Regions from separate parts of the Homo sapiens genome. Here regions 1, 3, 4, 5, 6 and 7 are each linked to region 2. The links are contacts of gene promoters, found by promoter capture Hi-C in blood cells and fetal thymus (Javierre and others, 2016). All regions are on one chromosome and are shown on one strand. Each heading gives the region's core, a stretch centred on a gene start or on the middle of the fragment in contact. The rest is flanking DNA. Distances are from core to core; before and after follow the strand shown. Region 1 overlaps NDUFC1 (NADH:ubiquinone oxidoreductase subunit C1). Region 2 holds the start of OTUD4 (OTU deubiquitinase 4). Region 3 overlaps NOCT (nocturnin). Region 4 overlaps ELF2 (E74 like ETS transcription factor 2). Region 5 has its middle 5.1 kb from the start of RPS3A. Region 6 holds the start of RAB33B (RAB33B, member RAS oncogene family). Region 7 has its middle 2.4 kb from the start of PLRG1.

What was found. The method cuts DNA at HindIII sites, captures the fragments that hold promoters and counts their contacts. A CHiCAGO score of 5 or more calls a contact.
Region 1: a contact is called between a fragment that was not itself captured here and the fragment with the promoter of OTUD4 in region 2, in 1 of 17 cell types (non-activated CD4 T cells). The highest score is 6.2, in non-activated CD4 T cells.
Region 3: a contact is called between a fragment that was not itself captured here and the fragment with the promoter of OTUD4 in region 2, in 1 of 17 cell types (activated CD4 T cells). The highest score is 5.0, in activated CD4 T cells.
Region 4: a fragment that was not itself captured here is called in contact with the fragment with the promoter of OTUD4 in region 2 in 2 of 17 cell types (total CD4 T cells and naive CD4 T cells); the score reaches 9.8 in total CD4 T cells.
Region 5: a contact is called between a fragment that was not itself captured here and the fragment with the promoter of OTUD4 in region 2, in 1 of 17 cell types (neutrophils). The highest score is 5.9, in neutrophils.
Region 6: a fragment that was not itself captured here is called in contact with the fragment with the promoter of OTUD4 in region 2 in 2 of 17 cell types (non-activated CD4 T cells and naive CD4 T cells); the score reaches 12.3 in non-activated CD4 T cells.
Region 7: a contact is called between a fragment that was not itself captured here and the fragment with the promoter of OTUD4 in region 2, in 1 of 17 cell types (total CD4 T cells). The highest score is 5.3, in total CD4 T cells.

The regions. Positions count from the first base shown.
Region 1 is chr4:139,293,618-139,296,317 of GRCh38, forward strand. It overlaps NDUFC1 (NADH:ubiquinone oxidoreductase subunit C1), which reads right to left. Exons shown (of 6, transcript NM_001184989.2): 3 at 2,115-2,343; 4 at 1,426-1,529. The coding sequence starts at 2,181. Among named protein-coding and RNA genes, the nearest start is that of NAA15, 6.5 kb to the right of the region's middle. RefSeq lists an enhancer at 1,974-2,537. The HindIII fragment of the contact is 2,778 bases long and covers 1-2,640 here.
Region 2 is chr4:145,179,277-145,181,976 of GRCh38, forward strand. It overlaps OTUD4 (OTU deubiquitinase 4), which reads right to left and starts at 1,313. Exons shown (of 21, transcript NM_001366057.1): 1 at 539-1,313. The coding sequence starts at 697. RefSeq lists enhancers at 415-1,244, 1,245-2,074 and silencers at 420-879, 1,000-1,229, 1,320-1,719. The HindIII fragment of the contact is 3,984 bases long and covers 1-2,700 here.
Region 3 is chr4:139,019,190-139,021,889 of GRCh38, forward strand. The region is part of intron 1 of NOCT (nocturnin); the gene reads left to right. Among named protein-coding and RNA genes, the nearest start is that of NOCT, 4.8 kb to the left of the region's middle. The HindIII fragment of the contact is 438 bases long and covers 1,105-1,542 here.
Region 4 is chr4:139,077,892-139,080,591 of GRCh38, forward strand. All of the region lies in intron 4 of ELF2 (E74 like ETS transcription factor 2), which reads right to left. Among named protein-coding and RNA genes, the nearest start is that of NOCT, 63 kb to the left of the region's middle. The HindIII fragment of the contact is 4,123 bases long and covers 1-2,700 here.
Region 5 is chr4:151,093,163-151,095,862 of GRCh38, forward strand. No RefSeq gene overlaps it. Among named protein-coding and RNA genes, the nearest start is that of RPS3A, 5.1 kb to the right of the region's middle. The HindIII fragment of the contact is 5,246 bases long and covers 1-2,700 here.
Region 6 is chr4:139,452,417-139,455,116 of GRCh38, forward strand. It overlaps RAB33B (RAB33B, member RAS oncogene family), which reads left to right and starts at 1,705. Exons shown (of 2, transcript NM_031296.3): 1 at 1,705-2,028. The coding sequence starts at 1,780. RAB33B-AS1 (RAB33B antisense RNA 1) reads right to left here and starts at 1,625. Exons shown (of 1, transcript NR_159964.1): 1 at 1-1,625. RefSeq lists enhancers at 993-1,332, 1,953-2,002 and a silencer at 1,403-1,732. The HindIII fragment of the contact is 749 bases long and covers 1,064-1,812 here.
Region 7 is chr4:154,551,424-154,554,123 of GRCh38, forward strand. No RefSeq gene overlaps it. Among named protein-coding and RNA genes, the nearest start is that of PLRG1, 2.4 kb to the left of the region's middle. RefSeq lists an enhancer at 694-988. The HindIII fragment of the contact is 277 bases long and covers 1,228-1,504 here.

The sequences.
Region 1 (2,700 bases), core at 2-2,501, 5.9 Mb before region 2:
CTTCAACAAGAAAATTTAAAATATCTTAGAGCTGGGGGACAGTGGAGGAAGTCCCAAACCCATTAGATAAAAAACAAAATTTTAAATATTAATATAGCAGATACTTTAACTTTAAAAAGAAATTTTATCCCAACAGAGGCAGTGTTTCACAGTCTTTTCTAGGATAGTGTGGCCTCTGAAGTCAGGAGAACTGGGTTCAGCAAACTAGTTTCTCCAAGTGTTTCTTATCTGTAACGGGTCAACAATAGTAGGTGCCACGTAGTGTTGTTGAAATGATTAAACGCAAGTTTATGTGTAAAGCATGTGGTGTGAATTTTTTTTTTTTTTTTTTTTTTTTTTTTTGAGACAGAGTCTCGCTGTATCTCCCAGGCTGGAGTGCGGTAGCACGATCTCGGCTCACTGCAAGCTCCACCTCCCGGGTTCACACCATTCTGCTGTCTCAGCCTCCTGAACAGCTGGGACTACAGGCGCCCTTCGCTACACCTGGCTAATTTTTTTTGTATTTTTGGTAGAGACGAGGTTTCACTGTGTTAGCCAGGATGGTCTGGATCTCTTGACCTCGTGATCCGCCCACCTTGGCCTCCCAAAGTGCTGGGATTACAGGTGTGAGCCACCACGTCCGGCCTGAAAATTTTTTTAAAAAGGTCGCTACACACTATGTACAATTTCCAACAATGTATTTATACAAACATTGATTAAAACCTAATGGAAGTCTACTGGGATTCAATTTGTACAACTTGCACACTGCTGGTTTGTCCTTACAGCATCTGAAAAAGGTACCTTCATAAAACTCCAATTAGCCTCAATTCTCATTAAGAAATAAAGTATAATTACTATTGCCGGGCGTGGTGGCTCACGCCTGTAATCAGAACACTTTGGGAGGCCGAGGCGGGCGGATCAATAGGTCAGGAGATCGAGACCATCCTGGCTAATACGGTGAAACCCCGTCTCTACCAACAATACAAAAATTAGCCGGGCGTGGTGGCGGGCGCCTGTAGTCCTAGCTACTTGGGAGGCTGAGGCAGGAGAATGGCGTGAACCCGCGAGGCAGAGCTTTCAGTGAGCCGAGATCACGCCACTGCACTCCAGCCTGGGAGACAGAGTGAGACTCCATCTCAAAAAAAAAAAAAAAAAGTATAATTACTATTTAGTAAAACTGCCATTCCTTACAAAACCATGTTAAGGAACAATAACAGAAATTTTAGTCCCATCATACTTTTTCAATGTTGCTGAAATCTTAATTTCTTTTTAGTCCTTGGGATTTCTCTTATGGAAAAATACGTATCAGCGATTATATAAATATCCTACTGTTATGAGAGTTTCACTGCCATACAACATATAACAGCACCATTCAATCTCGCAATGTTATGTCATTCCCTTACCACGCTGGTGTAGTCTCACGACATCCGGGAGTAAAGTACTTACATAGATCCACAAGAAGACAGTGGTGCCCAAGGTGAACCCAACTTTCAGCCAGTCAGGTTTGGCATTCGGCGGCTCTCGCACGTAGAACTTTGATCGCACTGAAGCTGAAAGGGGAAGAGGGTCTGTAAATTTGTAACTTACTGCCTTGTAGGGAAAAAACCCTAACATTTACGTGCGTATTATCGCATTTAATTCTCCCTTCAACTCCCCCATCTCCCACTTAAACAGCCAAGGAAATAGAGGTTCAAAGAGATCAAGTACCTCGCCCAGGGCCACTGGCGAGTTAGACAGGACGCACCTGTCCTGTCCGAGGCTTTCAAAGCCTCGTTTAAGGGCTTGCGGACCCTCAGACGACTCGGGAGTGGTCATGTAAGGGGCGCCCCGGGGAGGGTGTCTCCTCTCCCGGTTTACGGGACCTAACGTACAGAGGTGGGGAAGGCAAGGACCCAAAGTCCATTTACAAAGGCCAAGAGTGGTCAGGTTGAACTTGGATAAGTGCTAGAGGCGGGTGATGGGGAGCAGAGAGCCCTGCGTAGGGGACAGGCGTGGGCTGGGCCTTGGGTCGTCTGCCGGCGAAGGTCACTGCAGGACGAACCCGGGCCGCTGCCGCCTCCTGCACCCGTGGGCTGGGTCCGCCTTAGGAGGGGTAATCTGAGGGTCGAGTCGGCCTGCACGAGGAGGATACTCACGGCCGCTCGGGAGCCTGGCGGGGGCCAGCAGCCGGGAAAGGGGACGCAGCAAGGCGGACGGCGCCATCTTGCGTGGCCCAGCTCAGTCTCTCCGAGTTGGCAACAGAACCAGCGCCACCTGGCGGCCGGAAGTGCGGGACTCGAGGGCTCTGCAGCAGAGCTCCGTGGGGGCGTCAACGTGAATTCCAGCACGGCAAGGTTCTCTAGCACCCCGGCCTCAGCCTTCTGTCTATACAGTGGAATTAGGAAGAAAATAATTAAAAGAAAAAAGAGTTTACCTATTCTCTGTCCTCTGGGGGTTTTTCACCCCATCTCTACGGCTATTCATCAAGAGGTTTATTAAAATTTTCCTACATGAGCCAGAAGAAAGAAAAGTGTCGTGCTGAATAATAACTAGCATTTGGATTGAATTCTGTGGTCCAGGCACGGTGCATTAATGTATCATATGGTTTACATTCATTGTCTTATTTCATCTTCAAAACGAGCACATATCATGCCGTGGTTATAAGCCTCAATTTACAGATGAAGCTTAAAGAAGACAGCTACTCATCCAAGGTGACATATTATATTTTACAGTTGAAAAGAT
Region 2 (2,700 bases), core at 63-2,562:
TAAAAGGCTGGTTTTCTCAAACGGCAGTTTGCCCATTTGATTCAAGTGACATGGGCGAGCTTGCCTACCCTACATTCCAAAGTCCAGCAGCAAACCAAAATATGTTCCACAAGTAAAGTTTGATCCACCACTTCTAGTAAACACTTGGTTTACTGGAGTGGGGTGAGCGTGGTGCTTCTCAAACGAAGGGAAGGAAGGTGAATGCGGAACAAAAGTAAAAAATATCATGTCGCCAGGTCCCCAGCAATAAATCAACTGTACAAGCTCCGAGCAGGCCTCACAAGTTGTCCTCAACTCATTACCTCTTCATCAGGAGAGAGACACCCCGTTAATTTGCGGGCTTTCGAGTTTCAATTTGCACCTTTCAGACGCAAAGCAGCGTCCCACTCCGGCGTTACAATGGGGCGCTGTGACGACAGCCAGGGCACGCGCAGCCCCGGCCGTGGGCGGCCCGGACAGCCCGCAGCTGCCTCCCCACCCAGACCCGCCGGGCCGTCCCCGCCTCCCCTCGAAGCCCTCCCCGCCCCCCCGCAATTACCTGCTCCGCCACGGCCCGGAACAGGCACGACCCGTCCTTGGCGACCAGTTTCCGATACAAGCCCAGTTTCCGCAGATAGGCGTCCATGGGCGTCGCGTCCTCGCGGGGCCCCGCGCCGCCCTGGTCCCCGCCGTCGGGGACGCCGACGGCAGCCTCCATGTTGCTGGTCCTGCTGCAGGCCAGGCGCGGCGAGGGCTAGCCCCACATGGCCAGGCCGCCGGCTGCTCGACGCCCCGGCCTGGGGCAGGCGGCGGCTCGGGCTGGGGCTCGGGCTCCGCGAGCGGCGGCAGGCGGCGGCGGCCCGAGGCAGCGGTCCGCGCTCTCCGGGCGCATAGGGAAGCCCTGCCTAATGCATGGCTGTCCGCACGCGGCCGCCTCCTCGGAGCGAACACGCGCCCACGACAAACGGGGGGAGCGGGATTAAGGAAAACCCCGAGAGTGAGTAGTCACTTCCCGACGGCCTCGCTGCCTGACTCAGGACCCAGGCCGGGGGTCGCCGCCCCCACAAGTTTCCTCCTCCGTACCGGTGTGAAGCGAGAAAACCCCCGCCCCTGGCGCGCACGCTGGGCCGGCTCAGGTGAAGCGGGGCCTGCGCCCCCGCGCACTCCCCACGCCGGGAGCCGAGGAAACCAAAAAGAAAGACGCGGCCTTTCGTTTCCCCACCTCGCTGGAGGGCGCCGGAGGGGCAGGGAGCGGGTGGGGGCGCCCGGGAGAGAACAGCACCTCGCAGCCCAGAATTTGTTTTCGCTTTCGGCCCGACAGCGGAGAGGACGGCGGGAGATGTAGTCTTGGCAGCCGCAGGAAGTCGGCTTGCGGCGGGCGGGGACGCGCTGGCCGGCCTACCCGGGGGAGGTGCCCGGGAGGCGCGCGGACTACAAGTCCCTACAGCGCGGGCGCGCCGCCGCCACCGCCACCGCCCCAAGCCGGCTTCGCGCTGCACTGGCGCCGCGTCCGCGAGCAGGCCGAGGGGCTCCGCCGGCCGATGTGGGGCGACCTGCGCGCGCCACCCGCCAACCCTGCCGCTGCGCCGCGGGAATCGCGCGCGCCGGGCTGGCGTGGAGTTGCCAGGGACACGGCGGCGCAGTGTCGGCCCTTTGTGTATTTCTTTCCAGAGGGCGCACCTGTCTGCTCCCTTCCCCCCGGCCTGCTCTCCTGGTGTTTCCATGGAGGTGGCTTTAACGGCTTAAGCAGAAAATAGAGCTAATTGGCTGAGGCTCCGGGAACTGGCACGGTGCGGGACGACACACTCTGTCCATAAATCAACCGTGGACTGCTGATTGCTATTAGTAGTACAGCTCACGTACTACGGCAAGATGAAGGCTTTGCCAAAGACATTTTTGTTCACCCTGTCACTGTAGCTGAGCACCCCATCACAGAGACATGTCACTGTCGGAAGACGTTAGGGTTTTTTTTTCCCCCTTAAAAAATTCATCTTGTAAATTGCTTGATAACATGCTGACTGGACTGGCCATGGCTTCCACCAGTGCTCGAGGCTTCAGCTCAACTTCCCACCCTCCGACGTTGAATGGCAGGGAATTGACAAAGTTAAATTATGCTTTAGAACCCAGAATTTATCCAGCATGCTTCTGTTGCACCAAAATTTTATTTTGCTAAGATACAACATCTGGTGTCCTTATTTAAATACATGGTTAATCATAGGAACTAATTCAGTCTTTTAGGCTATGGTGGAGGAGAGGGAGAAGAAAAGGGAGCATTACTATAGGTTTAGACATGTAGTCAAATACCTTGGAATGGGGGGCAAGGCAGGCCAGGTGGTGAGAGTCCAACGACAAAAATTTTTTAAAAACTACGTTAGACACTTTTCAGTATTTTCAGTGCAAGCAATCAGTCATGTATTCACTTTCCTTGGAGCGTCTTTGATTTCTTAATGTTTAAATATTGTATCTCAAATTATGCTGCTTTTAGAGAATACAAACGTTATCGTTACCTAAATGAAAAAATGTCCCTGCCTCAAATTTACTTGTTGTAGCGAAGAAACACTTTGAAATCAGGTTTAGAAAAGTATAGTTTCAGCTGGGCGTGGTGGCTCACGCCTGTAATCCCAGCACTTTGGGAGGCCGAGGCAGCCCGGTCACCTGAGGTCAGGAGTTCGAGACCAGCCTGACCAACATGGAGAAACCCCGTCTCTACTAAAAATACAA
Region 3 (2,700 bases), core at 74-2,573, 6.2 Mb before region 2:
TGACTACAGGCACACGCCACTGTGCCGGGCTAATTTTTGTATTTAGTAGAGACAGGATTTCAACGTGTTGCCCGGGCTCGTCTCAAACTCCCCAGCTCTGGTGATCCACCTGCTTTGGCCTTCCAAAGTGCTGGGATTACAGGTGTGAGCCACTGCGCCCAGCCTATGAAGTGCTTTTTTAAAATGCAGATTCTTGGATCCTACTGTAGACCTATTAAGTCTGAGTCATTCATGATGGGCCCTGGATTCCACATAACCAAATGAAATGACAAAAAGAATAACTCCAGATTGTTCTTCTATGCCCTCAAATTTGGACATCTGGCACCCATATGTGAGAGAGACATTGAAGGGGCCAAAAGCTCCTCTCCACTCCTGAGCCTTGTGGTGGGGAGTAGTGAGTCCCGACAGCTGTCCACATTTGCTAATCAGTTCCTGCATAACTTATGCCCCTTGGCAATTGGTAGTTATTGGGAAGATAAGTACAGTCCCTTTGGAGTTATCAGATTCCAGGTTGTTAGAATTAAAAGGTGACCCTAGGGATGATCTCGGTGTTTGGCTTTCTTTTCTCAAGGATAGCAGCCCCCCTAAGAAGTAGCAGTTGCCACAGTTACTGTACTGGATGAAACGCAGTTGGAAGTCATCTGTGGATTTATAAATGCTATCCTCCACATCCCTCCTCCTCAGAGAATGAAGAGCTGGCTGAACTACTGTTCTCTACCATTAGAACATTTGCTTTTTTTCATGGTACAATTTATAGGCAAATGCCACCAGCTCATTTGAGAAGGCAGCTTTATTTAATATGTCCTTTAACTATGTGAGTAAACTGCTTATGAGAGAGAAGAAACGGGAAAGCTTGTCATTATCAAGCTGCTATGGAATAAATTGCTTTCCTTGTGGGAAAACTAATGTATGATTTTTCTGTTAGCATTCAATGGCAACAGTTTAAACATGGTGAACTGGGGTTCTTTGGGGTTAATAACCATGGCTCCAGATTCACATTCCACACACTTAACATTTGTAAATCATTTAACCTTGCTTGCTGTCTCAACACTAGACTTTACCTAGAACAAATGAATAAGATCAATTGATAGCAATTTATCCACAAGCTTTATTGAATAGTACATGTAAAAGGTGACATGACTAATTGCAGTGGGAGTTGAGAAGAAAGAAATCAGTGTGGCTGAATTTGTCAAGAAATGCTTTGCTTCTAATAGGTGAAAAAGGAGGGTGTTTTGGAAGGGGACAGTTTGCGGGGTGGTGGGGGCAGGCAGAGAAGACCACACACACAATGCCTGGAAGAAGGTGGCGCTCGCATGCAGGAGCTGTGGCAAGCATCTTAGGAAAAGGGGTAGAGGCAGAATCATTTGGGACAGTTGTTAAAATGCAGATTTCTGGCCTTTCAGCCCTCTGCTTGATCAGTTTCCTGTGGAGAAGCCCGGTGGAGTGCATATTTAACAAGTGCCTCAGGGGATTCTTCCAAAAAGATTAGGGAGTATTTATGAGCTCTGCCCCTCCTTTCCCCAAAGGTACTTATTCCTGGAAAGCTTGAGAAGCTCTGGAGAGGATTCTGGAAGAGCCTTAAGACCTTTGGTCTGGCCGGGCACAGTGGTTCACGCCTGTAATCCCAGCACTTTGGGAGGCCGAGGTGCGGATCACTTGAACTGAGGCATTCAAGACCAGCCTGGGCAACATGGTGAAACCCTGTCTCTACTTACATTAGAAAAAAAATAGCCAAGTGTGGTGGTGCACACCTGTACATCCCAGCTGCTTCGGAAACTGAGGCAGGAGAATCACTTGAACCCAGGAGGCGGAGGTATCAGTGAGCCGAGATTGCGCCATTGCACTCCAGCCTGGGCGACAGTAGGAGCAATACTCTGTCTCAAAAAAAAAAAAAAAAAAAGGATCTTTGAGCTTGGGGCCTAAGGCAGTTCAAGAGACCCCTGAGAAAGAACATTGACCCCCGAAAAAAGCAGCTTTAAAAAATTGTATATTTTGTCGAGACGGGTTTTGCCGTGTTGCCCAGGCTGGTCTCGAAATCCTGGGCTCAAGCAATCCTCCCGCCTCAGCCATCCAAAAGTGCTGAGATTACAGGCATGAGCCATCACGCCCCGCCAAAAGCAGCTTTTAAGAAAGGGAAGAAATTCCAGGGCCGGGCACAGTGGCTCAAGCCTGTAATCCCAGCACTTTGGGAGGCCAAGGCAGGCGGATCACCTGAGGTCGGGAGTTCGAGACCAGCCTGACCAACATGGAGAAACCCCATTTCTACTAAAAATACAAAATGAGCTGGGCGTGGTGGCACGCACCTGTAATCCCAGCTACTCTCAAAGAAAAAAAAAAGGGAAGAAATTTGCATATTAATGAAAGTTCAGTGAGAGGAAACTTGAGACTGAGGTTGTAATGGGAGTGTATCCATGTAGTCACTCTAAGTCACAACTTAGAGTAAAATGAGGTTTCTATGATGTTTACTAAAAGAAAAGTGAGGTAATTGTGTTCTGGCTTCTTGGAGTTAGGAAGGGAGATACAGCGTCTGTATTTGCTGTCAGGAGTCACTGGTGACTAATTACAGTTTTTCTGGTTTTTTTTTTTTTTAGACAGTTTTGCTCTTGTTGCCCAGGCTGGAGTGCAGTGGCGCAATCTTGGCTCACTGCAACCTGTGCCTCCCGGGTTCAAGCAATTCTCCTGCCTCAGCCTCCCAAGTAG
Region 4 (2,700 bases), core at 37-2,536, 6.1 Mb before region 2:
AATGAAGCTAAAAGTAGTCTGACAGGTATCATTTTCTAGTTACCACTGGTAGTGGCTATTGCTGGTCAATCCCCCTTGAAATAAATTTCAAGAACTGTTTTACTTTTTATTACAGTACCAAAAATAATATTTGCTTGTACCTTCATTTAATATTGGTAAATATCTTCTTGTTCCATTTCTATCTTTCTAATCAACCGGTGTTTGTATGGTACTGAAGACTATTCCAGACTCACTCAACAGCTGTTACAAAATACCAAACTTGGTAATTAAGTCTGACAAGAGGCATACCTCTCAGCTTTGCATAAAAGAATGCTGGCAATGGATCTAGTTCATAAAAATGTTCTCAAGTCAAAAATAAAATTTAGTAGCAATTTAGTTTGAGAGCAGTGAAAAAAAATTAGAAAACACTTCATTAGGTGATAGTGGTATTCTCCTATAAGCAACACTATAAACTAATAGTACAAGGTCTTCAGTCAACTGCAGCACCCGATTTACCACTACTTATCCTCTAATGCCCCAAAGCTATACCAGTAATAGGTAAATGAAGAATACAAATGAAGGCAATAAAAAGGGGGAAAAGGTAATTAAAGGTCTGGAATACTCCATCTTCACCTTTTCCCCCTTGACCTTTTAATCAATATACTTGCATTATAAAGTATAAAAAGGAAAAAGAATGGCAATTCTTTTTTTTTTTTTTTTACACTCTCGGAGGGGGAGAGCGAACTGCCCTCTGCAAGATGAGATCAGCCAGAAATTAAGTTTAAATTAATTAAAATTAAAAATTGAGTTTCTTAGCTACATTTTAAGTACTCAGATACATGCGGCTAGTGGCTACCATACAGTACAGACCTAAACAACACTGTAATTCAGCTATCCTCCGACCTTTTTTATCTGAGGACACTTTTACACTCAAAATACTGAAGACCTCGAGATTTTATCTGTATTTATCATATTTGAAATTACAAAGAAAACTTCAAAATTATTAATTCATTTAAAATAATACACCCATTACTGCAACCATAAATAACATTTTTTATGAAAAATAACTGTTTTTTGAGACAAGGTCTCGCTTTGTTGCTCAGGTTGGAATGCAGTGGCATGATCATGGTTCACTGTAGCTTAGATCTCCTGGGGTGTGATCCTCCTACCTCAGCGTCTCAAGTAGATGAGACCACAGGCACGCATCAGCACACCCAGCTAATTTTTTGATTTTTTTTTTTAGAGACGAGGGTCTCACTATGTTGTCCAGGCTGGTCTCAAACTCCCAGACTCAAGAGATCCTCCTGCCTTGGCCTCCCAAAGTGCTGGGATTACAGGCATAAATCACCATGCCTGGCCAAAAATAACTTAAAATAAAAAACAAAAAGTAAGTAGCTTTGTTTTTTACATTTTTGCAAATCTTATTATACTTGATTCAATAGAAGGCAGCTGAATTCTCCTTCCTCTTTCAATCTATTGGAATAACCCATCTATACATAGCTCCTAACTCCTCTGTACACTTTTGAAAGTGACAAGGCAAATAATGTCCCAGTATTATTTTCAAAACAGTTTTGTCTTTACAGATCCTGTGAAAGGCTCTTGGGACTCCCAGAATCCGGGTCAGAGAGTTTGGTTTTTGAGAAGCGCAGCTGTAATTCATCAACTGTAATTAATAACAACCAAATTCTATCCCCATGCTTATATAAGTTTTAGCTTCTAAACATAAACATCAGGGTGTAGATGACAAATTATGATTCTAGCCTAGGAGCTGTGGCTCACACCTATAATCTCAGCACTTTGGGAGGCCAAGGCAGGTGGATCACCTGAGGTCAGGATTTCAAGACCAGCCTGGCCAACATGGTAAAACCCCATTTCTACTAAAAATACAAAAATTAGCCAGGAGTGGTGGCTCACGCCTGTAATCCCAGCTACTTGGGAGGCTGAAGTGGGAGAATCACTTGAACCTGGGAGGCAGAAGTGAGCCAAGATTGTGCCACTGCACTCCAGGCTGGGCGACAGAGGGAGACTCCATCTCAAAAAATAAAATAAATGTAAAAAAAATAAAAATTATGATTCTGTAAGTAAAACAGTATTTGTCTACTCACAGATAAATGGTTTTTAAAAAGCTCTTCTTAAGCATTTCTTTGCATCCTTTTGAACATTTTGCTATAGATGACACAAGGAATCATTTTAAACAATTATCAAACATGAGGAATTATTTTAAATAGTTATCAAGAACATTCTGCTGCCTGCCCTTCTCCACCAACCAAATTTGTTTCTAAAATAGTTTTATGTTGAATGATTCTGATTGGCTATTTACACACTGACTGATGTGACCATGTAACTCAGTTTTTACATGAATTTTAGTACCAATGCTGCAATGAATTGTGAAGGGTAATTTCTTAAATTCATTTTCAAATGAGCTTTTTAAAAAGAAAACTAGTGTCATTCCTTGAGTTTCATTTTAATGTATCTATTCACATACTGCTTTTAACTTCTTTTCATACTGCTAATTTTTTTTCAATTTGATCTTTTCAAGATTGAGACTACATATTCCAATTTATAGTAAATCAGAAATGAGATTTTCAATTTCATAATGAACTTTAATAAAATAGATTTGTTTTCTGTCAGTGAAAATATTTAGGCTAAATTTCCAGAAAAATTTCACCTTCATTTAATAACTGCATTGTTGACCAAAACTTCTGATTACCTTATTTCGCA
Region 5 (2,700 bases), core at 164-2,663, 5.9 Mb after region 2:
GATTGAGGCTGCAGTGAGCCGAGATCACGTCACTGCACCCCAGCCTGGGCAATAGAGTGGGACCCTGTCTCCCCTCCCAATCCCCAGCATATCCCCCAAAATATATATTTTGGGATAGAATATTTTATTTCTTTCAGGGCCCACTATCTGTCATGTTGGTATCTTCTTGCCACAAGAGTTGGCTTTGTCAGTCTTAAGGTCTCTGTCAATGTTAATGCTGGTCAGTTGCACCTGAATTCCAAGGGGAGGAGGGTATAATGAGGTATGTCTGACCCATCATGGCCTGAACTAGTGTTTTAGGTTTACTTTGGAATGCTCTTAGCTGACAGGAGGAGTCCGTTCAGTTGGTTGGGGGCTTAGAATTTTATTTTTGGTTTATATTCAGAATCTTTCACGCATTGTATTCCACAGTTTTACAGATGTATGAACTTTGCGATTAGCCAGTTAAGAAAAAAAAATTGGTCGGGCATGGTGGCTCACACCTGTAATCCCAGCACTTTGGGAGGCTGGGATGGGTGGATCACCTGAGGTCAGGAGTTCAAGACCAGCCTGGCCAACATGGTGAAACTCTGTCTCTACTAAAAATACAAAAAACTTATCTGGGCACGGTGGCGCACGCCTGTAGTCCCAGATACTTGGGAGCCTGAGGAATGAGAATCACTTAAACCCAGGTGGGAGGCTGCAGTAGGCAGAGTTTGCAGTAAGCACTGCACTCCACCCTGGGCAACAGAGTGAGACACTGTCTCAATAAAATAAAATAAAAAAGAAAAAGAAAAAAAATTCACTCTATACAATTGTTATTGATCTGTTGTAAATGGATTGTTAATCAACAAATGTTGGAAATAAGTTGTCTTTTTTGGTAAAAGGGTAAGGGTAAGAAGAATGGGAAAAAAAATGAAAGGAAGCAACTTTTTTTGAGCATCTACTTTATGCCAGATATTTTGCTATGCATTTAATTTTCACAAAAACCTTATAAGTAAGGGAGACAGATAATAATTGTTCCTAAATATCTGTTCTTCCCTTCTTGGAAAGTAACAGAATATTTGGTGGGCACATGGCTTTTCTGCTAAGTTCTATTATTACATTTCTCAGCCAGTCTCGTAGCTAGGGACACAGGAAAGTGACATGAGCAGAATGGATGTGTGTAACTTGTGGATGGTACTGTGTAAGGAAAGGAATGTGCCCTCCTCTTTGCTTCTCCCTCTCTCTGCTGGACTAAATGTTGACTTTTCTTTCTATTTTTTAGAGACAAGTCAACAAGGCTGGAGTGCAGTGGTACAATCACAGCTCCCTCCAGCCTTGAACTCTGGGGCTCAAGCAATCCTCCTGCCTTGGCCTCCCAAAGTGCTAGAATTACAGATATGAGCCACTGCACGCCCAGCGTAAATGTTGACTTTTCATTCCAGACCACATGGATGACAGCACAGTATGGATAGCAGAGTAATAAGACTGATGAAATCACTGACACCTAGGTAACCAACACTATGGGGCATACACATCATCAGCCCTGGACTGCATCCACTTGGACTGTCACATAAGTGAGAAATAACTTCTACCTTGTTTTTTTTTTTTTTTTCTGAGACAGAGTCTCGCCCTGTCATCCAGGCTGGAGTGCAACAGCGCGATCTCAGTTCACTGCAACCTCTGCCTCCTGGGTTCAAGCGATTCTCTTGCCTCAGCCTCCCGAGTAGCTGGGACTACAGGTGCCTGCCACCACACCCAGGCAATTTTTGTATTTTTAGTAGAGATGGGGTTTCACCATGTTGGCCAGGCTGGTCTCAAATTCCTGACCTCATGATCCGCCCTCCTCGGCCTCCCAAAGTGCTGGGATTACAGGCGTGAGCCACTGCACCTGGCCAACTTCTACTTTGTTTATGCCACTGTTATTTAAGTCTCTGTTACAGCTTCTGAACCAAGTTGTTGTGTAACTCCCTGTGCAATCTATGTGAGTGGCTCTCCTGGAATTGTCCAACATGGCAGCCTTGAACTGAACTAATATGGTAATGAGAAAACAAGTTCAGAAAGATTAAAAATTTTTCTGAAGTCAAACTGCTACGTGATAATAGCAAAGACATGGAATCAACCTAAATGCCCATCAATGGCAGACTGGATAAGGAAAATGTAGTATATACACACCATGGACTACTACGCAGCCATAAAAAAAGAACAAGATCATGTCTTTTTCAGGAACAAGAATGGAGCTTGAGGCCATTATCCATAGCAAACTAACACAGGAACAGAAAACCAAATACTACATTCTCGCTTATAAGTGTATAAGTGGGAGCTAAATAATGAGAACACATGGGCACAAAGAGGAGAACACAGACACTGGGGACTACTTGAGAATGGAGGGTGGAGGGTGGAAGGAAGGAGAGGATCAGAAAAAATAACTAGTGGGTACTAGGCTTAGCACCTTAGATAAAACAATCTATACAACAAACCCCCATGACATGAGTTTACCAATATAACAAACCTGCCCATGTACCCCGAACCTAAAGTAAATGTTTAAAACCAAAAATGACAACAAAAAAAACTATGTGATAAGGTGGGATTGAACCTAGACCTACATGATACCAAATAGTGATTGTACTAGATTCTAGCCCTGGATTTTCACTTCGTGAAATGTTGCTGACTAGAAGGAAAGTTCCAGCACTTGTGCTTTTACAGTACGAGCAGTGTTTTGTTTTGTTTTGTTTTGTT
Region 6 (2,700 bases), core at 188-2,687, 5.7 Mb before region 2:
TTCACCATCCTTGAAATTCTCCCATTAACCACAGCTCTGAGTTTTCAACTGCTCTTTGTCCTTAAATCTTCAGATTCCCTCCTTTGAATGGGATAGGTAGAGCAGATTAGAAGAAATATATTCCGAGGCTCTCTAATAGTTTCTGGATGATTAACCTTCATGAAAATAACCTCACAGATAAGTAATTAGGATTTTTCAGCCCATTTCTATAAACTAAGTAAACTTTTTTTCTAGTGAACATAACTTGATATATTAGTGACTGTAGAAAGTCTTTCTACAGCAACAGGAATTATATCAAGGCTTTTGCAAATTCCTGGCAACTCCGGGCATGTTTAAGTTCTACTACTCATCTGTTCTGACTATATTTTCATCTGATGGAATAAGCAGTTCATCTCCTTTCCTAGAACTTTTAGTGCTCTACTGTCCCCCTCACTTTAGTTAAGGTCTGCCATGTCCTCCTCTCCGACAGTCCTTGACTTTCCCAATGGCATATTCATCTGCTCAAACAGATGTCACTGCAAAACAAAACAAACTTTTAACAAAAAGCAATGTTTGCATATTTGGGGCCTTTTGTATGACAATATTGCACGTTTCCTCAGAAAAATTCACGGAGATTCTTTAAGGTTGGGGGTTTAATCTATTGATATTTTCCTTAGGTAGACAAAGACAACCTCTAAGTGCGCTCAGTTAATCTTTAACCGCTACATCATCGTCACCCAGGCACTAAGACATAACTAGGGCATAATGAGTTTTATTTCCACCAGGGGCGCCTAGTAACTACCAGGTTCAACGCTCCCAGGTGGCCGACATGTGATGTGCTCTACTGTTTGGGCTGGGGATATTAGCTCAACAAACTCTGGCCACAAGGATCACGCGGATATTCTTGGGGATGCCTAGCGAAATGCGCTGTACCTAGGCCTCGAACTCTCGCCTGCTCTCCGGTGGGCGGTCTCGAACTCCAGCCTGCTCTCCGGCAGCCCACAGCAATGCGCCTGCCAAGACCTTAGGCTGCAAAACTCGCCACGGCCCAGAGCTCGCCTCCAAGTGCGCCCCGCACAGGGCAAGCTTTCGGCGAGGACTCGCGTCCCACCCATCTAGCCCTGGCCGCTGTCCCAACTCCCGCAGTTCACAGAGGCGGCGGCGGTGAGCGCAGCCGATGCCACATCCTCAGCGGCAAGCTGAAGAAACCTGTCTCCTCTCTGGGGCGACCAAACGATACGTCGATGCCGGAACCGACCCGACGCCGGAGCCGTCGGCTCCGTCCTTACCGTTGCTCTCCAGGTACACGCCCCCGTCAAAGGCGGCTCTGCGGCCCTCTCGCGAGAGAGTGCCCGTGGTACCTCCTTCCTCTCAGTTGTCTGTCTCTCCCCGCCCCCGGAGTGATTGCGCGGCTTCCTCCAGAGGGCGGGAACCTTGGACGTGGCGGGGCTGGGTCAGTCAGGGCGCTGGGCCCAGCCTCTCTGCAGGCTGGCCTTCCGCGCTGCCGTGAAGCCCCCGACAGGTCCCACGCCTGCCTAGGTAGACCGGCGCCAGCCCGAGTGACGCCTGGCGTGTGGCCGCGGGCAGGCGGCTCCGTGCGGCGGGGCGGGCGGGTGCCACACCTGTGCGGGCAAGGGCGGGGCGGGAAGGTGCGCAGGCGCGCTCGGGGCTGGTGGGCGGTGGCTCCTGGGAAGTTGCGCAGCCGAACTGGCCGGCTGGGCGCGCGCTCTTGCGGTGGCGTAATCTCTCAGCCTTTCTGTGTCTCCTTTCCTCCGCCTCAGTTTGGGGCGGGTCGGGGGAATGGCTGAGGAGATGGAGTCGTCGCTCGAGGCAAGCTTTTCGTCCAGCGGGGCAGTGTCAGGGGCCTCAGGGTTTTTGCCTCCTGCCCGCTCCCGCATCTTCAAGATAATCGTGATCGGCGACTCCAATGTGGGCAAGACATGCCTGACCTACCGCTTCTGCGCTGGCCGCTTCCCCGACCGCACCGAGGCCACGATAGGGGTGGATTTCCGAGAACGAGCGGTGGAGATTGATGGGGAGCGCATCAAGGTGAGCGGATGGGGAACTGTTGGGGAGGACAGGGTGACAGGTGTCCCAACCCCACCGTGGGCTGGTCGCTGGCCGTGTGCACGGTGTGTGTGCGCTCCATTTTTTTCTCACGCTGATGAGATTGGAGTTGGGGATTGGAAGGATTGCAATACTGCAAACTTCTAAGGCAGCGTTTCTCAGACTTCATTGTGCATGCGATTTACCTGGGGATCTTGTTTTTGAAAATGCAGGCTATGATTTAATAATCTCGCTGATGATGCAGGTGCAGCTAGTCCGTGGACCACACTTTGAGTTCAGGAGTGTAGGGCTTATCTACCGACCCATTTACTGTGTGTGTCGTGTGCTGGGAGTCAGTCAAATATGAACGGAGGAAAAACAGTGAAATTGCGCGAGAATGGAAAATTCATTTAATCAGTAATAGTTATTAAACATTCATTCGAGCAGTGCCTTAGATGTTGTGGAAGTAAAGCCTATTGCCTTTGAGGAAGTACTTAGGTATTCTCTTGCATACAGTTTTGCTGTAGTAGTTTCTTTATGATACTGATTTTAGAAAAATCTATTTTCCTGCAGAAACATTCTATATGTGATAGTTCCTACTCAGGTTGCCAAAAGCATTTCTCATGATGCCACCTCAGACACACGCCCAATTCTTTATTCCCTTTAAGTCGTTAT
Region 7 (2,700 bases), core at 116-2,615, 9.4 Mb after region 2:
GCGATCTTGGCTCACTGCAACCTCAGCATCCCAGGTTCAAGCTATTCTCCTGCCTCAGCCTCTGGAGTAGCTGGGATTACAGGCGCCCGCCACCATGCCCGGCTAATTTTTGTATTTTTAGTAGAGACAGCGTTTCACCATGTTGGCCAGGCTGGTCTTGAACTCCTGACCTCAGGTGATCCGCCCGCCTCGGCCTCCCAAAGTGCTAGGATTACAGGCATGAGCCACTGAGCCCTGCCTTAAGGTCATGTTTTTACTTGAAGATACAGCATCTCTGAATTTAACTGTGAGTTTGGCCTAAGAATTGCTTTTCTGTAAAGGTGGCAGGTGATGGTATTTCCTTGCAAGAAAATACCATAATTGTAAAATATATACTTGATGAACTAAATAATATACTCACCTATTAATAATAACTATAGAAAATAACATGATTTGAAATGACAATAAAACCATAGAAACCTAAGCAAGACTAATATATATGGCAATATATTAATTGTCTAGTTGGATCTATTAACTTTTTACATATTTAATCATCCTGGAGACATTAATTTAATTTCTCAATAACAACATGGTAATGATTGAGGTAAATTGCCTCGAATTTGCTCCTTTTAAAACACTGTCGTGAATTTATAGAATGATGTCATCCCCTTGAAAGTTTACAATATTTTAGATAAATATAGAACTCAAGTGACCCTATTATTTAGTTCAGGGATTCATGAATTATGTATATTGTAGGAAAATTTTGTATTTATATGGGAATATGTTTTATTTTCTGGAGAAAGGATCCACAAGTTTAATTGGATTCCTGAAAGGCTCCGTCATACACACATGGCCTGGCTGACACCCGAAGCTGCCTTATTTGAACAGCAGGTGTCACCACTGCTCTTTGTACGGGCCCTCAGGGCTGTCCTTAAAGCAGACACGGCAAGTAACTTATTAATATAAATTATTAGTATTATGTCTGTGTAAAACCAAGAATACAAGTTTTAAGGAAAGCCCTCCTTCTTTAGGCAAGATTTTTTAAACTCACCAATACAGAAACTCTTTTTATTCTCCTTCAAATATTGTCCTTTGCTCTTGAACAGTGATAGGTCATATGAGTATAGATTTGAGTGCCATTTTCATCAGCTTTTTATGATATTTTTATAGGAAGTGTTTTCTGATTCTTATAAAATAATAAATATTACTATTTATTTTTCTGTTTCAACTTAGAGGGTTAAATATACAAGCTTTAAAAAACACTATATGCAATGTTCTTTAGAGTTGTGTGGCTCAGTATGTCCATCCCTTAAATTTCATATTTGAAATTGTTCGTTAATTCAAAAGGAAGTAATCATGGGAGTTATCACTGTTTATTTGAATTTCTGAGGTCAAAACCTGTGAAAAATGATACTTGGACATTTCTTCCAAAACTTTGGTCTTTAATTGTTTAGCACAATGCTATGAATTTGCCTAAATACTAAGGTAGTGTTAGCAGATACTTTCTTGTAGCATAGTTGAAACAAGCTTCTGGGACTATAAGGAACAGTGAAGGGGCTGTTCTTCCTGTTAATGCCTGGAAAGACTTTGGGAATAATTAGATTGTACTATCAGTTATAAACTGTCAGTTATAAATATCTTAGCAAGGTGTATGTGTGTGTGTGAGAGAGAGAGAGAGAGTCCTCGGGTCTTACTTATCACAATTTCACCATCCTCTACTACATGAAGCCCCATCTCATGTGTATTAGTTTGCTAGGGCTGATGTAACAAAGTACCACAAACTGGATGGCTTAGACAACAAATGTTTATTGTCTCACAGTTCTGGAGGCAAGAGGCTTGAAATAAAGGCGTTGGCAAAGTTGGTTCCTTCTAAGGGCTGTGAGAGAGAATGTGTTCTATGCCTCTCCCCTAACTTCCAGTAGTTCTCTGGCAGTCTTTGCCGTTTCTTGTCTTCTGCTGCATCACTGTCATGTCTGCCTTCATCTTCACATTTCGTTCTCACTGTGCATATGCCTATGCCAAATTTCTCCTTCTTAAAGAACATCAATCATATTGAATTAAAGGCCCACCCTACTCCAGTATGGCTTCATCTTAACTAATTCCATCCAAAAATACCCTATTTCCAAATAAGGTCACATTCTTAGATACTGGGGGTTAGGAATTCATAATGTGAATTTGGGGGGACACAGTTCAACCCACAACACTATATCACAAAATAAGTGACAATATTGAACATAATCATGACTTTTGTTGTTTACCTTTACAAATAAGAATTTGTACTTACAAATATTTGCAGGCATTTACAAATGTTTTTATTTTACAGAAATATTTTTGGTGTTTATACTGCCACAGAAGAAATAACAATGTCTTGGTTCCAGCTTTCTTAGCTGAATGTTTTGTTGTAATATTTGTTTAAATATCTGTATTTCCCAGTAGACTTATGGGGTGAATATGGCATGATGTTTACTATCACACAGTCAGAATCTAATTGACTTGCAACTGGTAAGTTTTCAATATTTATTGAATGAATGAATAAGTAAGCTATTATATTGTACACTTAAATATGGGTTTAGGTGGCTTTGAGAGCTTAATTTTTTTTGAGACGGAGTCTGGCTCTGCCGGCCAGGTTGAAGTGCAGTGGCACCATCTCAGCTCACTGCAATCTCTGCCTCCTGGATTCAAATGATTCTCCTGCCTCAGCCTCCGGAGTAGCTGGGAATA